Regions from separate parts of the Homo sapiens genome. Here regions 2, 3, 4, 5 and 6 are each linked to region 1. Evidence: promoter capture Hi-C in 16 types of primary human blood cells and fetal thymus (Javierre and others, 2016). All regions are on one chromosome and are shown on one strand. Each heading gives the region's core, a stretch centred on a gene start or on the middle of the fragment in contact. The rest is flanking DNA. Distances are from core to core; before and after follow the strand shown.

Region 1 (4,083 bases), core at 1,065-3,564:
GATGTCTGGAGCTATGGCAGCCACATTGCAATTAAGAGGTGACAAACCTGGAGACAAAAGCTCACATGCATGTGATGGCAGAGAGCAAACACAAAAAAGAGCTTGGGTCCTTGATGACATGATTGTACTGCTCAACTAACCCTGAAACTATCTGCACTTGAAATTTATATTGAAGATATAGTAAATGACCTCATGCTTTAAGCTACTGCCAAATATTCTGTTCCTTGAGGCCAAAGGCATTCTAACAGATGCAATCTAGACACAGAAAGATGTTTTCCCAGAGTTCCTGCAAAAACAGATGATGTGTAGGTTATGGAGATTTTATCCAGGAATCCATTAGTATAGGTAGTAGTTTAGAAAAAAAATACTCCAAGCTTTGTCTCAGATATGGTTAAATCTGAGCCATCCACATGGTGTCTGTGCTGAATATTTTCCCCTCAGATGCACTGTTTCCTTTTCTGAAACTGACTGATATGAACTATATCAAAAGCCTCCCTTGCCCTCTGGCGTCTGGTTGGACTTGGCCATTGACAAGCACCAGCAGGAGACTGGAGGAGGGTGGTGAGTTAGATATAAATCCCCCAGGTCCTTTGCTGGGTGTTTACTTAGGCTGACTGCATCCGTTGACTGAAGGTCACAGACTCCTGTCAGGTGGCCCTGTGTGTCTGGATTTTTCGGTAACTGTTCTTTCCCGATTGGACAGATCTAGGAGCTGTAGCCTCAGGGTTCCAGCTTCTCTTGTGGTTTCCCACACCCTGCCCACATCTTTGCAAAATGCCATTTGTTTCCTGCCAGGACCCTGACTGATACAATGGTGTCAACGAAATCACTGCAGCTATTGAAGCTTGGTCCAGTCTATCTGAGGTGTGGAGTTTTATAAGGGCTTTCACCTACTATTAAAGGGAGACAGGAGACTACACAAATAAATGTCATGCTGCAAAAGTGAAACAAAGATCATAGCTCAGAGAAAACACTTTCCACTTGAGGGCAAGAAATCAGAGAAAGCTACCTGGAAGAGCCGGCATTTGGGATGAGGACGGATAGGAGTTTTAAAAGAGATGAGATGAAGGGCATTCCAAAGACAGGGAAGAGTGTAAGTCAAGCCGGGGAAGAGAGAAAGCTCAAGTGAAATTTCTGAAAAATTAGAGCTGGAAGGGATCTACGATATCTTTTATTTAATGTTCGTTCTCCCTTCACCTCCTTTAACTGAGATTTGGCCAAGGTCAAACAGCAAGTAAGTAGCATGTCAGGACTCCAACCAGATCTGCTGGCTACCAGGTTAGTTCTTAATAATCCACCTTCTACCTCCACCCCACTCCCTCACCTCAGGCAGTCTGCTTACTTCTCAGTCTCTCCCACTAGACTGTAACCTCCTCAATAGCGGGGCTTCTGTTTTCTTCACCCTTGAATCCCAGTACCTAGCACAATATCTAACACAAAATCGTCATCGTCATCAGCAGCAGCAGCAGCAGCTACCAAACTTTAAGAGGCAACCACCCACTGTCAGGCACTATGCAGTTATTTTGTACATCTTCTGTAATCTTCACTTTTCACTGAGGACGCTGCGGCTCAGAGAGGTTGTCTAATTTGTCTTAGGTCATACAGCAGTGCCGGACTCTATTTTATAATATCTTTCATCAACCGGACTCCGAAGCCCTGCCTCAATGGGCGTTCAGTAACATCTGTTGAATGAACGAATGAACAAGCAATATCCACTCAATGCAAACTATCGGCTGTAACAGGCCACCCTAAAGGCCCCGGAACCTCGGCCGGCTCAGGACTCCGCACGTTGTCTTCCAATCTAAGCACACCGGCCCCTCTCTGCGCCCCGCACAGGCTCAGAGGCTCCGCCCGCGTCTCCGCCTAACTCGCCGGCCACGCCCCCACTTCGGGGAGCTCGGTCCCTCTCGGATTCGAGTTTTCCTCGGCTCCAGCCGCCGCGCAGAGGGCCTCTCCCGGCCCTGCGACCTACAGCCCCTTCCACTCCCCTGCCCCTCCTCTGCGCCCTCCCTCACTCTCCAAACTTCTTTTTTCCACCCTCTCTAAACTTCAGTCATTCTAGTGCCCGCCTCCTCCACTCGCACCGACCAACCAGTGGTCCCCATTCTCGTTGGCGGTCCGCCTCCTGCCCGCCGGGGGCCAATCCCTGGCGCGAGAGTCCAGGGCCGGGGCTCGTTCCCAAGCGCCCAGCCTGTGACGGCAGCGCGCCGGGCGCCGCGCGGCGGGAGGGGGCGGGGCTCTGGATGAGGGATGGGCGAGGGCCGGGGGAAGGGAAAAGGGAGGAGGAGGAGGTTGCGGCTGGTTTGAAAGCGGCAGTTTCCTGGCAGCTTGGGCAGGCGTTGGTCTCCGCGCTACAGCTCCGCAGCGGCCACGATCGATCCCGCGACGGGTCTACGCGCGCTTCTGCGCGCCCCCCACGGATTTTTCCCGTTCCCGGCTCTTCCCCCTTCACCTCCCCGCCCCCCCGCCTCAGCCTTTCCCGCCGCTCGGGCGCTGAGCCCAGGGACCAGCCGGCGGCAGTGACCCCGCCCGAAGCCCCTTCTGGAACCTCCTGGGGACAATTCCCTTTTCCTTTCTTCAGCCTAACCCGCGGTGGCCCTCGCGGAGTCCGGTCAGCCCCGGGGAGCGCAGCCGGGAGGGGCGTCCAAGGGGCGTCTCGCGTCTGGGAACGGCCGGGCCCCCAGCGGGCTGTGGTCGCGGGGTGGGGGCCGGAGCGGCGAGGCCCCCCTTACCGGGCTGCGCGGGCCGCCCAGGGCCCCCGGGCTGAGACGGGGCCGGAGCGGCGCCCCGGCCGCCCGCGCGGGGTCTCCCCCATGGTGCAGCGGGGTTCGGGATGTCGAAGACGCTGAAGAAGAAGAAGCACTGGCTCAGCAAGGTGCAGGAGTGCGCCGTGTCCTGGGCCGGGCCCCCGGGCGACTTCGGCGCGGAGATCCGCGGTGGCGCGGAGCGTGGCGAGTTCCCCTACCTGGGGCGGCTCCGCGAGGAGCCCGGCGGGGGCACCTGCTGCGTCGTCTCGGGCAAGGCGCCCAGCCCAGGCGATGTGCTGCTGGAGGTAAACGGGACGCCTGTCAGCGGGCTCACCAACCGGGACACCCTGGCTGTCATCCGCCACTTCCGCGAGCCCATCCGTCTCAAGACTGTGAAACCAGGTACGCCGGCCCTGCGTATCTGTCTCGGGGTGTTGGGGAGAGGGGCTTCAGGGTGGGCGTCCTGGGAGCGGCGGCACCTCCCCACCGCGTATTGTCCCGGGTAATCTTAGACCTCTAGGGTGTGCCAGACTCCTTGACGAGGGGGAGGGGTGGCGTTGGTGAGTCCCATTTTGCCGAAGGGAAAACTGAGCTCTGGCTTGGCGCGGTTGCTCTGCTAGCTGTGCTAGCTGTCACAGAATTGCGACTAGAAGCTGGGTTTCCTACATTTGTAGCTCCATCTCCCCCCGCAGACAAGAGTTTTTGACTAGAGAAGGCCAGCCTTTTCCTGTGTTGTGCAAAAAGGCCCTTAGGATTGTAACATTTTCTTTGGAACGATCTTACGCATCTTCTAACAGGGAAAAAGGGACTTTACTATAGAGGCACTTGGTGCCAAGGTTACCACCTGGTGTACCTGGAAGGGCTTAGCTGCTTCAGTGTTTCTTGCACTCTAGCAGACATCTCAGAGCTGACAGCCTAACTCTGTCAGTCCAGGTGGTTCAGGTGTCTGAGTACCGATGACGGTACAATATGTGATATGTGGCAGACTGGTGTGTTCTTGCAGGGAGCTGTTGAATAGAGTCTGGGTTTTGCAGGAAGACCTAGGTGCCTAGCGGAGTGAAAGCTTCTGTAACGCTTTTGATTTTACAGAATTTTGTTGAAGTGGTAGGTTAAAGGAGCCTCTGTTGCCCTGGTATCTTTTATGCTAGTAAAAATTGCTGCAAAGCACGTTATGTTTATGGCATACTCGTCAGTTTCAAAGCATTGATCAGAGACAGCATACAGTGAGATCTGATAGTATGTAGTAGTTCTTATGAATTTGTTATAGACAGCATTGTTGGTTTTGTTTCAGCATAGATAGAATGTGGTTCTGTCGTCTTAGATGTTTGTGGGAGAG
Region 2 (4,083 bases), core at 1,044-3,543, 480 kb after region 1:
TCTCCTGAATGAGTTCTGTCTCTCCCCATTTTCCCAGTGAGCACAAGGGCCAAGTTGACACCTTCTGTTTCCTTATGTCCCAAATGAACTCTGCAAAGTTCAGTTAGGCCCAGGAAAGAAGACAGACACTGTTTAGAGTGAGTGACATGTCTTCTACCCGGACTGTTCATCGAAAGGTTTCTTGTCAGTGTGATCAATGAGAAACTTCTGTTCATCACAGAAGGTATTTTTATTCATAACTTTTAAGTCTGCTATATATACCTCAAACTCCCTTTTGAATGAAGCAAAGTCAGATGCTTCTGACAGTCTGTGTCTCTCCCAGGACTGGGGAAGTGCTGACCTCCATTAAGGGAAGTGTTGATTTCAGCACCTCTTCAACCCTCCCAGTAACCTTTGAAGCTTCACTTGGGTTCTGGATATAAAGACTAAGAGTGTTGGTCTATATAGGATCTAGAGCAAGTGGCCCCCACAAGGAGCACCTGACCAGACAGTTAGCTCAATACCCTGCATATGTAATGCTGGTAAACTGTGATGGAACAAAAAGAAAGTAAAATCAACCACCTTGCTGACAACATTGTAACTTTTAGGGCAGAAAGCCTGAAGAACTGTTTCTAAAGAACACATTTCTACTCTGCAACCAATGTCTTAGGAAATAAATTTGTTTCAGGAAGTTATGCTGTGCCTGTGGCATTTTGGCCCTGAAAGGCAGGCTCTTCTAGAAAAACTTTCCACATTTGAGCTTGCATAACCTCTCAATGGGTACAAGTCTACCCAAGTGCCTAATTCAGTGTGAGAACATCCAAAAATCAGTATATCATCTTTATTGAAGGCAGAAGTTCAACAAATGTTAACAAAATTAGTCTTGATCCTGAAGAAAACTGGGAAATGTGTTGTTAGGACTTCCTCTATTTAAGATATTAGCAATCCTTTCTGTTTTGCAACATTATTCAAACTTCCTTCAGGATATCATGATTCTGAACACTGCTTAATCTGAACATTAAAGATACTGCATGCTCTTTACTAAGTACTGCAAAAAAAAAAGAAAGATCATCGAGATATCTTGGTTATAGACAACTTAAAGACAATATTTCAAATTAAGAAACTCAATCCCAGTATACATAAATTAAAATAAACCCTCATTCTTCAGCAATATTTGTTAGGAATAGTATATTTCTTAAATTATCCCCATCTAGAATTAAGAGAGAATTTCTTGCTGCTCTAAGTAACGTGATGTTTACTTTGGCTATTTTAAAACATAAAATATGGGAAATCTTTGATTTATAAAAATACAAAATTTCAAGTTTGTAATAACTAAAACCATGTAAAAGTGTGTACATAGTTAAAGACTAAAAGAAGCAAAAAAGAATCAATTGTGTAAGTTTGCTTTCTAAAATTATCATAATTTTAGAATTATGATAAAGTTTGCTTTCTAAAATTATCATACCGTTTTTAAAATTAGAAATAAACATTTAAAAATCCATTAAGTTGTTCAACAAATTTATTGAGTACCCACTAAATTCTAAACATTGTCTTAGGAGATTGGCATACAACACTGAGAAAGCCAGAATATGGTAAAAACAAAACAAAACAAAACAAAAACATCCTTAGCCAGTTAATAAAGCAACTCAGAACTAAAGATACAGACATGATTACTGATAAAAATTAAAACACTCCTTAGGTAACTTTGGGAAAGAAAATAAAAATAAAAACATTCCAAACTAACTTGCTTAATTGCAGAGTAGCAAAGCATAATCCTAAAAGGAAAATGATTTTCTATGTTTGGACAAAGAAGATAATATAGTTTTATAATTTCTCTGTACCCTTAGAATGTCCTCAATTACACAAAACTAGAACTTTATTAATTTTTATTAATTGATGAGGCAAACCTGCCTAATAAAATTTAAATCTATTTTTCTCAAGCCTATATTTCAGCACAATCTCTTACTAACTTTCTTGTTTCTTCTTAATGAGGGAGAAGACAGAAATAAATAGGAGATAACAAAAAAAATTTTGCTTAGATGCCTCCATAGTCCCTTTCCTCAAAATCTAAGAATCTGTAAATAGTGTCTTGGCAGAACTTCACACTTTTTTAAAAAAGCAAGCAGCAATCTATTCTACTGTAAACCCAAAAGGTATAGAGACATTGTGAAATAACCAAACCCCCAAAACCCACTTAGCTACAAGGCCATTTCCTGAGCAGACCACTCAAGCAAGCAAAAAACAAACTGAAGAAGAAAACAAAAAACTTTAATTATTTTTTTTGTTTTGGGTTTTTTTGTTTGTTTGTTTGTTTTGTTTTGAGACAGGGTCTTGCTATGTTACCCAGACTAGTCTGGAACTCCTGGGCTCAAGTGATCCTTCCACTTCAGACTTCCAAGTAGCTGGAGCTATTATTTTTTTTTTAAAAAAATAAGCTACTACTTAATTTATCACACTTCCTTCTACAGAGCACAATGCTTTTTGATGAAGATTGTGTTGACTCATTTGTATCTTGCGGGAAGATAAAGAGCTGGGGAGGGGAAACAAGACATGCAGTAAAGGTTGGCAAATACCTAAAAGAGTTTCAGAATTTATGATGAATCATTTAAACCAGTCTGGCATAAAACCTAAGTGAACACAATTCCATGCAATAAAAAAAGACTCACAAACATTTTGCCAGAACCATCAAGTAAATTGTGGGAAGTAAATTGTGGATAAGCACCTGAAGAGGAGTGACAAGGCCACATCTCACTGCTGCCTCATGTGGCTGTAGTGCTTGGTCAGAAGGAAGAACACAACAGAGAAGAGTGCTGGTCACCATGTCACCTGTTCCAAGAAGAGGGGAGTATGCTAGTTTAAGGGGAAATATCAGTATCACAGAGGTCAGGAATTAGATTACAATAAACATTAATTGAGGAGAATTTCAGGGAAGACTACAAGGGTAAGATAAACTATTCAATAGGAAAAACATTCAGGATTCTCAGAACATCCTTCTGTCTTTTAGATGAGGGGGAGACATGTTTTACCCTGGAGAAGATACTTACCCAACCTTAGCTTTAGTTTCACTACTCTTGCCTTTCCCTACATTCCAGGGTCATTGATTTGATATGGGATATATATACTGTCTGTGAAACATTCAGTCCTTTGTAAGCATTCTTTTGATCACCAAGGCCTATTGGAAATTTCTCCTCAATGTCTTTTAGATTCAACCTGTCTTTTCCATTCCCACTTAGCCCCATTCCCACTTTCACACCCGGATTCCTATAGCAATAAACTTAGAGTATCTTCCTATCTATATGTTTCCATTCTAGTATCTCCTGTTAACCAAGGCTGGATGAAAGTTCTTAAAACTGCACTTTAATGCTAAAGAATCAGAATAGTTATTGATGATCTACGGGAACAAGTCCAGATTCCTTAGCTTGTCACCAAGCCCCTCCCTGTCAACTATCCCCACCCAACCTATCCAAGCACATCACCTACAGACCTCGTTCGTTCTACTACCACTTTTTTCTACTTCTCACCTTTACCCCTAAGTTTCACCACAATGAAAATAAAACCATAAAGCTCAATTTTTCTTCAAAAATCTTGCCCCTAACTCTGTTTCGCCATGATCTTCCCTTAGTCTGAATCTCTTCAATATAAATCTGTATATTCAGCTATAGAAGTTTTCATTTATTCAATTTCCTTGTCTCCTATAAGTTTATTTAAGAGTTTATTCAAAAGATGTCCCCTGTATTTTCAGATTTATCAAAGGCAATGATAGTGTATTCTATGCGTTTGTATAACCCACAGTGCTTAACATGGTCTTGAGTATACCTAAAAATAAGTCTGTTGTGATAAAGTAGCTAATGTGGTTACGCTTTGGTGAGGGATCTACTCTCACTTGGTTACTCATTATATCAATTACTCCAAGTCTCTTGTCTGGCACAGTCTGTGCTTCTTGTCTCTAGCTAGGCACTTTCATTATGCCAGGAGCAGATGGGCCTTCCTACATGGAGGCACAGGAACCTGGCAAAGGGTACTTTCCTGAATGCTGCTGCCCAAGCAGCAGGGCTATTATTATGAAAGGAATGGTGTCAATACTGAGCTTCAGAGTCCATCTCT
Region 3 (4,083 bases), core at 475-2,974, 420 kb after region 1:
TTCAAATATTCCTGAGGAAAAACAACTAGTAAATTATATAAAATAATATATAAAGTACAAACATACGGCATAATCAAAAGCATCACATTTCTTCCACAAAGAATATAAATAAATGCTACAGGTACTTGGGAACAGGAAGACATCAGTTCTGGCCAATCTAATTTTTCTAGAATCCACATTTAATTGGATACTCTGACATTTTCTAGTAAAATATTCTTGAGGGCTATTGGAATTAACAGATCCACAAAGTGTGCTAGACAGAATCAAATGCAACTGAAATTCCGGCCTCTACTATCTACTGCACAAATTCCCACTTTTCAGAGGCACTGTTGGTCCTATTTCCTAGTATCAAAGGGTAGAGAAAACCTTCCACATGCCTATTCTAAGAATTTAAATAGCTAATATGAAAACTTTAAAATGATTTTTACCTCTAGATTAAAAAGAACCAAGATAAACTGCGTCTGATATTTTACCTTGCAGAAGCTAAGTCAACCAGTGAGTCGTGTAACCTTTATATGAATTCCCTCCTGAAAGACTGGAACCATACCCCTGACTATTCTGGAGCAAGGGAGAGCAGATAACTAAAGCTCTCCAGCAAGCAAAACAAGGAGAAGGGATTTTAGGAACATGCCTTTTCTTTGGAAAGGCATTTTTTAGTACCCCACCTACTAATCTAACGCGGCGCGGAAACCTTGCAGAATTTGAAAACAAATGCTGAGAGGCTCCGGGGGACCGGTAAAGGGATTAGCAACTGACAGCTCGGCCTCGGAGCGAGAAGCCTCAAGTAGTTAGATCAAACCGTGTCAACGATCTGAAATCCAGGGTCCACCCCAGTGAGCTTAGAGAAGTACAGCAGCAGAAGGTAAGCAGGGGTTTGGCGTCTTTCAGTCCTAAAGATGCGGGATATCGGAACTGAGAGAGACCTAGAACCCAAGCCGGGCAGTTTGCCTGCTCTCACCTCTCTTGGGGGCTTTGATCAGAGGCACCCCTCCAGTCCTCTCGCCGTTTTCCTGCTTGTCCTTGTGCTTGAGATCGGTTCCGCAGGAGCTGGGATCACCATCGGGGCCGCGGTGGTGATGGTGCTTGTGCCGCTCCTTGTGGCCCTTATGCTTGGGCCCGGCCGCGCTCACCGTCAGAGGCGAGAAGGTGAAGAGGGCCGAGGTGCTTGGGGCCGGGAGAGGGGCAGCGACAGCGGGCCCGGCGGGTGCCAGCGAAGGTGGCGGCGGAGGCGGCAGGAGAAGAGGCTCAACAGGGCCTGGGACAGTTGGGGCTGCATTCGTTGGCGGCAGCGGCCCAGGATGTTGGCGGCTGCGACGCCGCCGGTGAGGGGGAGCGAGAGGGGGCTCCTGGCTCGGCCGCCCCCGCTTCTCCTGAGACCCCCCACTGCTAGATCGGCGCTGCCGTTTAACTCCCCGCGGGGAGACCCCAGCATGAGGTTTCTCCTTCCCCTCTTTGTCCGGCTCCTCCTGCGCCGCCACCGCCCGTACTACGCGCACCGCTCCGACCTGCGCAGCCATTTCACCCACAAACACACATTTAAATGGCCCGACCGCCCCCCCGTCCGCGCATCGCGCAAGCGCCGCCCGCGCACTGCCCGCTGGGCATTGGAGTCTCTCCTCCGCCCTCCACTTGTCGGCCGTTCTTCGTCCAGAGATGAACATGCCGGAAGCGGCCGTTCCCAGCTTTTCTCCGCAGGCCTCTCCAACCGAGCTTCTATTGTAAAGCACCCTATGCCGCGCAAAGCGTCATGGGAGCTGTAGTTCCGCCGCGCCCCCGCCGCGTCCCCGGCTCTGAGTGGAGGAGTGGAAAGGGAGCGTGCGCGAAGTCACGCTTCTGGCTGCGACGCAACCGCCGCTGGGCGGTGAGTTGCCGCCAACCGCCCTAACGGCCGAAACAATGTTAATGGCTTTCAGAGTCTGGCGGCGCGTTCCCATTATCATCTTCCTGTGACCCTTCCTCATTTTACACGGAGGAGGTGGTCTCCACAGTGATTTTAAATTTAATATTTCTCTCATAACCTTTGTGAGATAAAAGAATCTTCATCCTTTTAACTTTGACGAGGGATGAAATGAAGGTGAAAAGAGGATTTAGTAATATGTAAAATAAGGGTGGTTTTGCTGTAAAAATATGATAGGGCCGCAATTCAGAAATGTTTTCAAGCATCTGGGGCATTGCTATGGTTACAACTACAGGCCTACGAAGTCAGGTGCGAGAACTGCTTGGAGTCCTGGTGAGGACGGCCCCTCCTCGCCATCCGGCCACATCCCCTCTAATGCCTGGAAATGTCCAGCATTTATTTTGAATATATCCCTACAGTTGCGAAAAATTGTAGATGGAAAACCACGTTTAAGATTTTTTATAAGTTTTTTTTTTTCAAATCTTAAGGATAAGATTGCATAAATTTGAAAAGTGTGCCTACCGGAGAACACACCAAAAATCATCACTGCTCACTACGGATAGTTGTTGCTCAGAAATTCATTTAGAATTTCATCCTCGCTTTAGCTTTTACCTGGGGTTCTTTTAAGTATTTATTTAGAGACGGGCGGGGCGGGGCTCGGTGTCTCAGGCCGGTAATCCCAGAGCTTTGGGAGGCCGAGGCGGGAGGATTGCATGAGGCCAGGAGTTCCAGATCAGCGTTGGTAACATAGTGAGCCTCTGTCCCTACAAAAGTATTTTTTAAATTATCTGGGTGTCGTGACACGCGCCTGTAGTCCCAGGTACTCGTGAGGCTAAGGTGGGAGGAGTGGTCGCACCACTGCACTCTGGCCTGGGTGACAGATCTAGACCCTGACTCTTAAAAAAAAGAGACAAGGTCTCGCTCTGTTGACCAGGCTGGCCTCCAACTCCTGGGCTCAAGGAATGAGTAGCTGGGTCTACAGATGCACTCATGGTGCCCTAAGTAACTCATGGTTACCTAGAATTCTTTTAGTATATTTGTTTATTGATAAAGACATTTGGAAGTAATTGATTACAATGATATATACTCAGCAGATAAAATTACTGTGGTTTGATTTCACTAGTTTCTGGAGAAGTATTACCTAAACACTACTGCAATGAAGTCAGTTTAACAACCAAAAAGTTTATTGAGTGTCTGTTGGATACATTGTACTACAAGAGACAGATAATAATACTTCATTCAATTTGCCCTATTGGACTTCCAAATGAAAAATACTGAAGAACAAATGATGTTTAAACAATACTACATGTTTCTAAAAGTTATAAATAAAGTTATTTAAATAAAAATATTTTTAATGCATTAGGGGAAGTCAGGTGGATTCTTTGTAAAAACAATTACCTGCCAATTTATTTACTACATAAAATTAGAGTTGAACTAGATTTTCTTATGGCAGATCCATATTCATATAGAAATTCATTTTAAACTAGTATTTCTGATTGGTTAGATAAAAATTGCACATGATCTGAAAGATCCTGTATAAACATATACAATTTATATCTTTTGCTACCAAAAGATAGCTATTATATTTCATTGATTACTTTTCTAGAATTGGTAATTTAATGACTTTGGTTAAAACTTATCAGGATTTCAGTTGAATTCCTTGTTACATTCAAATAATTGTCATTATTTGCACATTTTATTCTAATAAATATAATTTCTCATTTTCTTAATATTCCAGTTTTCCACAACATTTGGGAAGATTTACAAGGTATACTCCATTTAGGCAAAAATAACTGTCAGGGAATAGTCATTGTCAAGAGCAGTTTGTATTGCAACCCACAAAGTAAGTTTTTTTTTTAACTTTTTATAGTATATTCTGGCAATGTAGAAATTAGTTGAGATCCAAATCTTACAAACCTTTTGAAGTTTATGTTTATGTAGAAAAGTAAAAGAAAATAAAAATAACTGGCAAAAATGAAAAATAAATCCATTCTAAAAGTGTTTCTCATATAGCATTCTGTACATAAGCTCAAGTGACAAACTTTTATTTGCAGTTTTCAACTCAATGCAAATGATATGAAAATGCAAAACTGGCACTTATTGGCATTTTGCTTTTCTTTTAAAAGCTATTAACACATTAGCATATCTTCATATTTGATATTATGCATATAGAGCACTTATTTTAA
Region 4 (4,083 bases), core at 895-3,394, 400 kb after region 1:
TCTACTGTAACAGGAGAGAATGAGGAAAAGATGTATACAGATAAAGTTTAAATAGTATTTATGAAGAACAGGTAAACAAGCTAAACAAAGAAAAGAAGTAGGCTTCCCAGGCAATGTTGACAACCCAATGGGAAGCATTATAAAATGTCATGAAGAGACAAAGTCCCCAGTGATGGCCAATCAAAACATGATTTTTTAAAATTTGCACTTTGTAGAGGTCAGATAAGATTATCTCTTAGTTTATGATGCTCTGAAATTCTAAAAAGATGCTATCTACAGGTCAAATGAAAGGAACTAGAGTAATGGTAGATGGTATATGGTTTAAAACAGTGTTTCTTAAACTTGCCTGATCATAGGAATCAAGTCGGTCAAGGTACTTATTTCATGCCTCACTCCAGACCTCATGAACCAAAATTTCCAGAAGAGGAACCTGAGAGTCTAATGTATATTTGAACTAGCAACCCCAAATTATTCTTAGGATCTGGCAAGTTTGGGAAACTCTGGCCTGGAAATAGCAACTGAAAACAAAGAACAAGTTGAATTCTACAGCTTTCCGGAGTTTATGTACTGGAGCACAGTGGAGGAACAAACAGAATTGGGAGGACTGGAGGGAGGTAAGTACGAGACCAAAGAACAGAAAAAACTAAAGCTGCCATGGAAGCAGGAGACATAACGCCAACAGGAAAAACACAGTCTTTGGTAAAATCAGAAGGCAAAGTGGGGAGGGGAGAAGGATGTGGCATCAAAGAGAAATATGCCTATTAAAAAAAATAATAGTTTTGCATAAAATTTATTCTCTTTATAATATCTATAAAATGTTAAACAATTATCTTTGAATATATATACTGCTGTCAATACATATGTAGTGTTTAAATTAGAAACTCAACTTCACAGTTATCCTGTATGAATTTCTGAATTAAGTAAGCTCAACTGTGTCCCCAATACATAGAGCTTCTACAAAGGACAATTATAAATCTGTTAATAACTCAGGAGAACACCAAGCTAAAAAAGCACTATGTGGAAAACCCTGTGTATGGGGGTTGAGAGCGGGTGTGGATTATTCCACAGAACTCACGTTTCAGGAAGAAGCCTATTCAAGCTGACTTTTTAAAACACAGAAAGGAAAAAATTAGCCAGCGATCTTCCTAACCTTGTGCCTTGTGAATAGAAAGGCATTCCTACTTTAAAATATATAGTGAAAAAACAGTGTGACTGGGTCAAAGTGAGTACTTAAAATAAGAGGAAAAAAAAAAGAATCAAGCCTACCATTTTTATTTATGCCATTTTATTTTATAAAACCTGCTACTTAAAATGTTTATTTCTCCTTTTCTATAACACACTAATAATGCATACAGTTCCTTAAGGGTTTCTGAGCTATTTCCCAAGCTATATACTACTCTACTAGTTCTATTCTTATTAGTATTACCAATTCATTATAAAATGTTAATCAATCAAAGATCAGAGTGCATATAACAAGCCCATATAAGGCCTTGTCCCAACACACAACGAGGGAATAACATTTTTTGTTTTTCTCTGGAACCGTAGACACTAAAATTATACACGCCAATGCTACAGAACATTATCATTTTATAGAGTAATAAAAGTAATATAAGAAATAAAACTACCTAAAGTTAAAAAGCTTTGATTCTCAGTGAAACCTCAAAATTATATATGAAAATTTTTGAAAAAGATACTTAAAACATGCAGATTTGCCAATCTTCCCTACCCCCAGCAAACACATAACACACACTCCTCTCCATGTACATCCTTCAATTACTTAGTTGCCAGAAGATCTCAGAGGTGATATTGAAAACAATTCCCTTTTAACTTCACTGTATTTTTAGTGTTTGTTATTATTTGCGCTTGCAATTTATGTACAGATTTTGAGACCTATATGGCCTTGGTGGTCCATTTACTAGCAACATCAGCATCACCAGAAAATGCAGACTATAAGCAAAGCTAGTGCTCACACCTGTAATCCGAACATGCTAGGAGGCCAAAGCAGGAGAATCCGTTGAGACCAGGTGCTCAAGACTAGCCTAGACGACATAGTGAGACTCTGGCTCTATAAAAAAATTTTTAAATTAGCCAATTGTAATAGTACACACCCGTAGTCCTAGCTACTCTAGAGGCTGAGGCACTGGAAATAGCACCTGAAAGCGAAGAACAAGTTGAGTTCCACCACTTCCTGAAGTTTATGTACTGGGGTACAGTGGAGTAAGAAACAGTAGAAAGACTACTAGAGCCTAGGAGTTCAAGGCCTCAGTGAGCCATGATCACACTTCATGATCACACTTCAGCCTGGGCCACAGAGCGAGACCTCATCAAAGAAAGGAGAAAGAAAGGAAGGGAAGGGAGGGGAAGGGGAAGGGAGGAAGGAAGGAAACTCAACTTTATAAAGTTATCCTGTATCAACTGCTAAGAGTTAAGTAATCAAACAAGGATCAGCTTACTGTTTCAATGGACATATAAATTTTTCTGCTCTGGTATTAGAACATTTGAGTTTTCTAGAATGTTAAAAGAAAACCCTATATGTGGATCCTAGCTTTAGCCACCACAATAATTTAAAAATATAAAAATAACAGAAGTTTTCATTTTTCTTGCACAAAATCTACATTTTACTTTCTCCTGCTTAGAGGAGCTGAGTTCTAAAGCTTCTCAAAGTTTAATGTGCATATGAATCACCTTTTAAAAATGCAGATTCTGATTCAGAAAATCTGGGTAAGAGCCCAGTCTACACTCCTAGCAAGCTCCCTGGTGGTGCCAAATTCATACATAGAGCAAACTTTTAGTAGCAAGGTTCTAAAGAAAAGGCATAATTTACAATAGTATTTACCTGTCCACGGTTTGCAAAGCACTAATCTTGATCATGTCTCCAATTCAATTCCTAATTGATAAACCTACCACTTTCCCATCCTTACTTACTGGATCCTTCATATGGATAAAATAAACACTTCATTCTTAAAATGCAGAAAACTTCTAGTCTTTCTTCTGCCTGCCTTTCTTTTTGGTCTTTTCCCATGTTCATCATACTTACTTGTGGATGCATCACAAGATTCCACCCTTAGTTTCATCTCTTTTCCACTGCTATTGCTGGTTCCATCTTCTGCATCTCCGCATCTCCTGCATTAATGGGTTCAACTTCTGCATCTCCAACCTAGACACATCTCTCAAACTTGGATCCATACATTCAATTCCTAAGAGTTCTTTTTTTTTTTTTCTTTTTTTCTTTATTGAGACTTGCTCTGTCGCCCAGGCTGGAGTGAGTGACGTGATCTTGGCTCAGTGCAAACTCCACCTCCCAGGTTCAAGCCAGCATCCCAAGCAGCTGGGATTACAGGCGCCCGCCACCATGTCAGCTAATTTTTGAATTTTTAGTAGACATGGGGTTTCACCACTTTGACCAGGCTGGTCTCAAAATTCCTGATCTCAAGCAATCTGTTCACCTCAGCCTCCAAACTGCTGGGATTACAGATGTGAGACACCATGCCCAGCCTCCTAACAGTTATTTCTAACCGTAAATTCCCACAGGTACCTTCAACTCAAAATATCTCAAACTGAGCTCATCAACACCCTCTAGCCACAGAAACCGGCTTTTTCAACCATGTATTGGCTTTGACCAGCATCGCCATCCACCCATTTGTCCAAACCACATCTGAAGACTATCTCTCTCTCTCACCAAGACTAGTTAAATCTCAACCTTCTAATTATTTCTCAAATTTCTTTCTTTTCTCTCTAATGTCAGTACCAGTTTGGACGTGGAGCATTTATGACATGGTTACTATCGTAACTAACTGGTATTCTTGCTTCCAATCTCATATCCTGCACCACCAATTCCATCCTCCACACTATTATGTAATCTTTGCAAACATAAATGGATAGCAAGCATTTCCCTATTAAAATTCACCAATGACTCCCAATTATCTTTAGGAAAAAGTACTAACTTTTTAAAAGCATGTCATCTAAGGCTCTTCACAATCCTAATCATGTCTCTCTCTCTCTGGTCTCAACTCCTTCCATCCCTTAACAGTCAGTGCATACTCTTGCCATGTCAATCTATTTGTAGCTCCCTCTAAGTGCCGC
Region 5 (4,083 bases), core at 789-3,288, 260 kb before region 1:
TATAAATAATTTTTGTATTCATTGACCATATGTGTTGGCTGCAATGTAAATATTTTTGATATGCCAAAATTATATGTAATATCCAGTTATAATATTGACAAGTAGCTTCTCAGATCACAGATTTTAAATAACTCAATTTAGTGAGATCTAAAAATTTTATTTAAAGTATAAAAACTGTGGCTCACACCTGTAATCCCAGCATTTTGAGAGGCTAAGGTGGGAGGATTGCTTGAGGCCAGGAATTTGAGACCAGGCTGGGCAACATGGTGAGACCCTGTGTCTGCAAAAAAATAAATTAAAAAAATAGGTGGACATTGTGGCATGCTGCTGTAGTCCTAGCTACTTGGGAGGCTGAGGTGGGAGGGTCACTTGAGCCCGGGAAATCAAGGCTGCAGTGAGCTGTGTGAAGCCACTGCATCCCAGCCTGGGTGACAGAGTGAGGCCCTGGCTCAAAAGTAAAATAAATAAATAAAAAGTTTTAAAAACTTACTTGTTAAGAAGTGTATCTATAGAGGCAGCTACTTAGTGATTGTATACACATAAACACAGTCTTGGTGTAATTAACCGCCTTCTTCATGCCTAGAGGTTCATACTTCTGGTCATTTGCCATCTGTTTAAAAGTGCTAGGTGATACTCCCTTTCTAACATAAAAAGCTTGTTCTTTCAGAGCCTGGCAGTCCTGTCACAGCTGTATGCACCTAGAGGAAAACTTGTTTGGAAATTCCTTTCATTTCCTCCCCCTCTCCCTCCTTCCCTCTTTTTTTTTACTGAAACAGAAATTGATTGAGGAAGGTTCAGTCATTCCTTCAGGAACCAATGAGTTAGATCGGGTTGTTACTTTATGTATAATGAACGCTTCAAAAACTGGAGGCTGATTTAAAGATTGCAGAACTTGAGTCAGACTCATAAGCAGTACTGTGACATGAATTGGAGCCAGAACAGTTGCTGATATCAGAACCATCTCTTTCATTCTGTGACTTTGCTCTTGCCATGTTCTGACTGGGGTGAGCCGCTAGGATACAAATCACTATCACTGTCCATATTTGAGTCTGCAAATCTTGTCATTGTCTGCTTTAATGCTCTTTGAGTTGCAACAGGTGTATTATTTAAATGAGTATTTGAAATTCTGTGAACAGGAATTCTTTTGGTAGTGAAATAGGTGCTCACACCTGCTTGCTCAGAATGTGAAAATATTATTTCTGAGTTCTCTTTGTTCACTTTCTAAAGTGACTGTTGTTTGGTGTTGGAGATGTTAACTGGGTTCTATTAGGTGTGCTATATCTTGGCAAATATTCCCCATGATGAACTCTTCCTACTATCACAATCAGGACTATGACTGGATTTCTCAGTCTCAGTGCCCCAGATTCACCATTTCTGATTGTGTCTGGAGAACGTTTTCCTGGAAAGGCATTCCATGTTCCAAAAGCTACAAAAACATGCCACTTTGCAACTATGGGTCAGTTATTTGCTCTCTCAATGTCTCATGTTGCTGAGTTCTAGAAAATCTCTGTCTCATTTACCAGGGGTCATTCAAAAGTCTGAGATGTATATTATCATGAAATATTTGTGAAATTTCTCACCATGAATTTGGAGGGAACCTACTTTTATTTCTCGCTCTGGTTCTCCATTGGTCTGGGCTCCTGCTTCTCAGTCTTCTCTGACCTCTGGTAAGTGGAACTTTCATTAATACTTCTGTCGCACTTTGTACCTGACCTAGGTGGCCTTGCAAATGTTGACTCAGATTGTGGATTTTCCACTTTCCTCTGTTTTCCCTATTTTCTCCCCTGGGAAATCTTGCAGATGATGCATATTCATTTTCTGTATTCAGCCTTCCATTATTAAGGATAAAATTGATCCCTACATTGAATCTGAAATTACCACTATATGGATTACTCTGGCTCACTGCTGTCCAAGCTTGGTTTTCTCTTTGCTTACTTCCTGTCATATTTTCAGTTTGCCCAAAAGAGGTAAGCCACTTTATTACAGACCCATTACTAGTGCTAGACGTCATCCACCTCTGTTTTCACCTGATTCTTGTGGGGAATCCTCTTTAATTTGTTGTAACCTTCTCAGCAACTCTTCTGTACTTCACCTATAGTGCCTAGCAAATTGTTATCACTCATAAGCCTGTAATCTTCATCACTCAGGTTATTTGCAAGTAGAAAGCTTCTGGAACCATTTGTCCATCCGACTTCTGCACTGGGCCACATCCATCTTCTTCATTGTCAGAATCTGAGTTTTCTGTCTTGAAGAACAGCTGGAAAGTTGTCTGGCTGTTATGACACAGTATTGAAATACCAGACTGAGTTTCAGTTGTTTCTAGTTGTGTTCACTTTGTGCTTTCTCTGAATGGGAATATCTTCTTTCAGCAAAGTTCTTCATTGACCAGGAAACCAAAGATTGCTTCTTTTCCAAGTTTGTTTTGTTTTTAATCTTTTACCAATGTGCAGTATATCTTAAGAAGGGAAGAGTGCTCTTGGGAGTAGAAGAACATGCAAACATTCTTTTTTCTTTATTATTATTTGAGATGGAGTCCCTCTCGGTCACCCAGGCTGGAGCGCAGTGGCATGATCTTGGCTTACTGCAACCTCCGCCTCCCAGGTTCAAGCAATTCTCTTGCCTCAGCCTCCCAAGTAGCTGGGATTACAGGCACACCACCATTTCCAGCTTTTTTTTTTTTTTTTTTTTTGATATTTTTAGTAGAGATGGGGTTTCACCATGTTGGCCAGGCTGGTCTTGAACTCCTGACCTCAGGTGATCTGCTTGCCTTGGCCTCCCAAAGTGCTGGGATTACAGGCATGAGCCACTTGCCTGGCCCCAAAATTCTTATACTGTAAAGCCTTGTAGTGGTCCTTATTTTTTTTTTTTTGAGACGGAGTCTCGCTCTGTCACCCAGACTGGAGTGCAGTGGCACAATCTCGGCTCACTGCAACCTCTGCCTCCCGAGTTCAAGCCCTTCTTCTGCCTCAGCCTCCCAAGTACCTGGGATTACAGGCATGCACCACCATGCCCGGCTAATTTTATTTGTATTTTTAGTAGAGACGGGGTTTCTCCATGTTGGTCAGGCTGGCCTCGAACTCCTGACCTCAGGTGATCCACCCGCCTCGGCCTCCTAGAGTGCTGGGATTACAGGCGTGAGCCACCGAGCCCGGCCGGTCCTTATTTTATACAAGTGATTAAGCCAAAAATTTTCTTGAATTTCTGATACCAAAGAGCTTTAGGTAAATAACTTCACACTCTAATGCAATGTAATTCTTTCTTTGTGCTTTCAGATTTCCTTACACTTCCTGTCCAGTTCTCTCTTCTAAATCCAATATTACTCACTAGATAATTTCAGCCACTTAAATAAAAATATCTATTTTTAAGTCCTGGTTCAAGGGTTCCAAACTCACATAATTTCTCAACTTTTTGCCAGAAAGTTGAGCATTTATTCATACTTATTTTCAATCCTAAGTGTTCTCCCATGGGCAGCAGCACTTCTTGAGCTGTTTAGTACTGCCACACCTTTTTATGTCTTTACTATGTCAGCCTCTGATCATTTTCACTTTGAACTTCCTAAAGATCACAATTTCCTATCCCTTCAATCTGCGATCCCTCTTCTTCCTTTCTTACTAGATTATGGTGTAGTTTGTACTAGACTGACTCATTAAGACCTTGTACGCTTCCTGAGTCTGCTTATTACTGGCTTTGTAATCAAGGGTGAGTCTTTTTACTTCTCTAGGCTAGATTTTCTCATTTATGAAATGAGGACATTTTTCTAGATGCTGTAAAGCCCTTTCCAGCTGTAACATTCTATGAATCTGTAATTCCCTCGAGGAGCTAAGGAGGATTATGCTACTTTAATAAAAAGCTGCTTTGGTGACATTTGTTCGAGTAGAACAAGAGTGATGCTGCTCATTCTGACTTGAGCCAGATGTATTTCCTTTATAGCAGGAGTAATGGTCTAAGAAATACTCATTAGGAGAAAAAAATTCTGCTTCTAAACAGTATTAGTAAACAAAGAATCTTGACTCAGTTGAAAAACCACCCATTGCTCTCTAGAGCAGAATGTCTGAATGCTGGTTTTATAGCACACTAGAATAT
Region 6 (4,083 bases), core at 524-3,023, 260 kb after region 1:
TCAAGCTGGTCTCAAACTCCTGACCTCGTGATCCGCCCACCTCGGCCTCCCAAAGTGGACTCTTTTAATCTCTAAAGTTCTACAATTTTAATAGGAAGTATATATCAAAAGATACTGCTTCTATAGAATATTATCAGGAATTTACTAATCTCACTTTTTACATAGTTCCCTGACATGTTTATTTCTTCTCTCTTTACAGTAAATACTTCTTACCTATAAATAACATTAATATTTTCCCAAAGGAAAAATTTTAGTCATGAAATAGATTTTTGTGACTTAATATTCTTTTTTTTTTTTTTTGAGATGGAGTCTTGCTCTGTTGCCCAGGCTGGAATGCAGTGGCACGATCTCAGTTCACTGCAACCTCTGCCTCCCAGGTTCAAGCAATCCTCCTGCTTAATATTCTAAGGAATACAACCTACCCTTTGAGGGTAGGACAGTATGAGTTAGGAGATTAGACCCTGGAAATCAACCTGGATTTAAATCTTAGCTTCACCACTTGCTATGTGACAATGGCCAACTTACTTACACCCTCAGTTTTCCCACCTAGAAAATGGGGCTAATAATAAATGTTAGCTCTTAATTATTTTCCTTTAAAATGCTATCATTTTGCAAAACTAGGCTAGGTAAGTAGTTCATATGGAATACTTTTCTGAGAGAAAGGTATTAGCTTGAGAGCAGGAATAAGGTATTTTACAGGCACTCTATACAGCAGTGCCTGTACAGATTTAATGTACCTTACCCAAGTGTTAACTTAGGTCATTTGCACCTGTCAAATATCAAACTCAAGTTTGATCATTCTGAATTCAACATTGTTATATTGATTGGACAGCATTAGAAGTTAATGGCAGTGTAATACTGAGTATATGGAAGTGAGAGTAAATGTTTCTAAACAGTCTTCATACAGTTTTGTTTAGAGCTCAAAACGAGGATTTATAGTTGAATTGTGTGTGTGTGTTACACTCTTGTGCAAATTTTCCATATTAAAAAGTTCTGAGATTATAGTTTATTGAGTTACTCTATAATATCCTACTAAATACTGAACTTTGTTTTGTTTTAATCCTTTTAAAATAAATCATAGTATTTATATTTTCTGATTTTCCTCAGCACCAAACACCAAAGATTTGGATGTTTTTCTTCGAAAACAAGAGTCAGGGTTTGGCTTCAGGGTGCTAGGAGGAGATGGACCTGACCAGTCTGTAAGTGTCACTTCTTTGGAACATGGCTGTTTCCTGTTCAAACGTTTTGAGTGGTGATTTGGTGGATTATGGTGTGTTTTAAGTTTTTTTTTCTCTGACAGTTTCATTAATATGAAGAATAACTGCATTTCCATTATTATCATAGTCCCTCAGTTATTGTGGTGTAGCTGAGGCTAAAAACTGTGGGTAAAAACTGAATATGTCAGCTGCAAATTAGACAGTGATTAATTTATTTACTTCTCTGTGTGAATAACTACATAAAGCTTATTTTAAGTTTATATTTTCCTTTGCCCTCATTAAACAGAGTCTAAGACATTTTCCTTCTCTAAGAAGCCTATAATCCCATGTCCTCTTTCCCACTATTACTCTATCTTCTGGATGCTCCATAAATGGTTGGCATGAGCCTGTGCATATTGTTTCACCTCGTCTTATTAATAGGTTGGCATTTTCATGCTCAGTACTTTGCATGTCATTTCATCTGTTACCTTTGAAACTAGAGGAATATAAAATAATTAATATTTTTGTCCAGAGGCATAAGGGTTATATTTGCAAAGCATTTGAAGTCTAGGATTTTGTTTACACATGATTCTCACATAAACTTGTTTTAGAGAACAAATGTAGTGGGTTTTGTTTCTAAGTTTTGCTCTTGGTTTGAATAACAAAGAAGTAATGTGTTCTGTAGCATTTTTAAGAACATATTTGCATTTTATTTTATATAATATCAATATATTATATATCAAAAAATATGGTTGGAAGTTAGGTGAAGAACAATAATCTTTAAAAATTACAGGCTTCTTATTTCTGAATAGAACATTTGATTTATGTAGTATAAATTTGTTCTAATTGGTCATATTGGTTACAGTTACAACAGTCATTGGAGACACATAAAGCTTAAGGCAGGTTGCCCTATGTAGAACAAATACTAGATACTTTAATTGTTCTTGGTATTTGTATTTTTGTTTTATTGCTTCCTATTTTGTTGATACTCATAATGTTCACTTAGACATTTTAAGAATTTGTCTCAAACAACTTAGAAGAAACCTTTCTTTTCTCTTAAATGTCAGATTTTAGCAGCTCTGAAACTAGCCTAAACATTCAGGATTGCCTAATTACAGGATTCTAATGCTGGTGAGCAAAATGAACCAGATTTGTTCACCTAGATGCAAGTGAAGCTTCAGGCCACTCTGTTCCCGCTGAGATTTAGAAACAAGAAATGTCTCTGTGCTGTGTATATTGAACTTGTACCGTTAGTCATATGTGATGGGAGTACTGTTGAGAATGATCCCAGTTGCTGTGAACAGTATGTAGAAAATCTTGCCTGATGACATTGAACAGACTTTTAATAGCTACTCTGCAGATTTATATTTTCTGAGTTTAGTGTTTTGTTTCATTGTAATGATAGGGATAATGGTTGTGCTTTTTGAGTTATCGAACAACTTTGTATTTTCTATTTTCTTTGTACACAGCCCTGAGGATCTATAAGGGATTACATAATACAATGTGGTTATTTGAAGTGCCATTTTGGAGAATGGGCACTTTCTCAGATAATACCTTTCTAAAATATAACTGTTTTCATAGTTGAACTGCAAAAATCTGTTGGTTTGCACAATGCTAAGTTAGGAATTCCTTAACTCTTCAGCTAAACTTTACACTGTGGACCAAACTGTACTTTGTTATCTTATCAGATATATATTGGGGCTATTATTCCCCTGGGAGCAGCTGAGAAAGATGGTCGGCTCCGCGCAGCTGATGAACTAATGTGCATTGATGGAATTCCTGTTAAAGGGAAATCACACAAACAAGTCTTGGACCTCATGACAACTGCTGCTCGAAATGGCCATGTGTTACTAACTGTCAGACGGAAGATCTTCTATGGAGGTGTGTGAACTTGTTCCTGCTCTGAAAAGTTAAAAAAGAAACAAAGATACTAGTCTACTTCCTGTGTAGTTTTGCAGGTTATTTTATTACATTCAGTAGTATCTAAGATAACCCATTTGGTGTGATCCAGGGCCTCACTGTGGAAGGCTATGCAAACACAAAAGGATTCAGAAATAATACTACTATAAAAAAATAAATTTTGGGCTTCTATATTAAGATTATTTTCATATATTGATGCATTTTGCAAATGTATTATAGGTGGGAGTATTGATTTAAATCCGGTTTTGTTTTGTTTTGTTGAGTTGAGGTAGAGTCTCACTCTGTCACCCAGGCTAGAGTGCAGTGGTATGAGCTCAGCTCACTGCAACCTCCACCTCTTGGGTTCAAGCGATTCTCCTGCCTCAGCCTCCTGAGTAGCTGGGATTACAGGCACACACCACCACACGGCTAATTTTTGTATTTTTAGTAGAGACGGGGTTTCACCACATTGGCCAGGCTGGTCTCGAACTCTTGACCTCAAGTGATCCACCTGTCTCAGACTCCCAAAGTGCTGGAATTACAGGCGTGAGCCACTGTGCCCAGCCTAAATTTGTTTTGTTTTTTTTTAAATAACAAATACAAAATTATTTAGTCATACCAAGATATCCCACTAGCTGAATATACAAAGATTTTTGGATCCCAGTGAAATCTGAGCTACTAAAGGAAAGTAGGATGTTTCTACTTGAGAAGTTTTAGTATAATTTAACATTTATTGAGTGCTTACTATGTCCTAGATGCATGGATTATTTTATTTAATCTTCACAACACTATGAGGTCATTATCTAGTTCTATGATTACTCAGAGAAAGGTTGAGAAACAAATAACTGGTAAGAGGTAGGGCCTGGATTAAAAGTTGCAGTTTAATTCAGAGATCAGGGTTTAAACCATAGCATTAGGATATGAATATCTCTTATAGTTTCTCGCCAGTAGCTTTATGAATAATTAAATAGAAATTCTTATAAGTGAA

Evidence for each region. The method cuts DNA at HindIII sites, captures the fragments that hold promoters and counts their contacts. A CHiCAGO score of 5 or more calls a contact.
Region 2: a contact is called between a fragment that was not itself captured here and the fragment with the promoter of MAGI3 in region 1, in 1 of 17 cell types (fetal thymus). The highest score is 5.4, in fetal thymus.
Region 3: the fragment with the promoter of RSBN1 here is called in contact with the fragment with the promoter of MAGI3 in region 1 in 2 of 17 cell types (fetal thymus and naive CD4 T cells); the score reaches 6.5 in fetal thymus.
Region 4: a contact is called between a fragment that was not itself captured here and the fragment with the promoter of MAGI3 in region 1, in 1 of 17 cell types (fetal thymus). The highest score is 5.4, in fetal thymus.
Region 5: a fragment that was not itself captured here is called in contact with the fragment with the promoter of MAGI3 in region 1 in 1 of 17 cell types (erythroblasts); the score reaches 5.5 in erythroblasts.
Region 6: a contact is called between a fragment that was not itself captured here and the fragment with the promoter of MAGI3 in region 1, in 1 of 17 cell types (endothelial precursors). The highest score is 7.4, in endothelial precursors.

Annotation. Positions count from the first base shown.
Region 1 is chr1:113,388,201-113,392,283 of GRCh38, forward strand. MAGI3 (membrane associated guanylate kinase, WW and PDZ domain containing 3) reads left to right here and starts at 2,315. Exons shown (of 21, transcript NM_001142782.2): 1 at 2,315-3,149. The coding sequence starts at 2,834. RefSeq lists silencers at 647-891, 1,881-1,930, 1,961-2,320, 2,731-2,860, 2,921-3,080 and enhancers at 2,761-3,260, 3,311-3,360. The HindIII fragment of the contact is 2,966 bases long and covers 843-3,808 here.
Region 2 is chr1:113,872,010-113,876,092 of GRCh38, forward strand. The region is part of intron 3 of AP4B1-AS1 (AP4B1 antisense RNA 1); the gene reads left to right. Among named protein-coding and RNA genes, the nearest start is that of PTPN22, 2.3 kb to the left of the region's middle. The HindIII fragment of the contact is 3,793 bases long and covers 398-4,083 here.
Region 3 is chr1:113,810,752-113,814,834 of GRCh38, forward strand. RSBN1 (round spermatid basic protein 1) reads right to left here and starts at 1,725. Exons shown (of 7, transcript NM_018364.5): 1 at 959-1,725. The coding sequence starts at 1,661. It overlaps AP4B1-AS1 (AP4B1 antisense RNA 1), which reads left to right and starts at 1,861. Exons shown (of 5, transcript NR_125965.1): 1 at 1,861-2,074; 2 at 3,636-3,740. PTPN22 (protein tyrosine phosphatase non-receptor type 22) reads right to left here. Exons shown (of 21, transcript NM_015967.8): 21 at 3,060-4,083. RefSeq lists enhancers at 536-1,065, 790-849, 1,000-1,089, 1,066-1,595, 1,470-1,859 and 1 more. The HindIII fragment of the contact is 4,966 bases long and covers 1-4,083 here.
Region 4 is chr1:113,790,471-113,794,553 of GRCh38, forward strand. All of the region lies in intron 2 of RSBN1 (round spermatid basic protein 1), which reads right to left. Among named protein-coding and RNA genes, the nearest start is that of RSBN1, 20 kb to the right of the region's middle. The HindIII fragment of the contact is 1,015 bases long and covers 1,638-2,652 here.
Region 5 is chr1:113,124,714-113,128,796 of GRCh38, forward strand. LRIG2 (leucine rich repeats and immunoglobulin like domains 2) reads left to right here. Exons shown (of 18, transcript NM_014813.3): 18 at 1-4,083. It also overlaps the pseudogene RLIMP2. Among named protein-coding and RNA genes, the nearest start is that of LRIG2, 54 kb to the left of the region's middle. The HindIII fragment of the contact is 252 bases long and covers 1,913-2,164 here.
Region 6 is chr1:113,648,130-113,652,212 of GRCh38, forward strand. It overlaps MAGI3 (membrane associated guanylate kinase, WW and PDZ domain containing 3), which reads left to right. Exons shown (of 21, transcript NM_001142782.2): 13 at 1,108-1,199; 14 at 2,885-3,077. Among named protein-coding and RNA genes, the nearest start is that of PHTF1, 110 kb to the right of the region's middle. The HindIII fragment of the contact is 627 bases long and covers 1,461-2,087 here.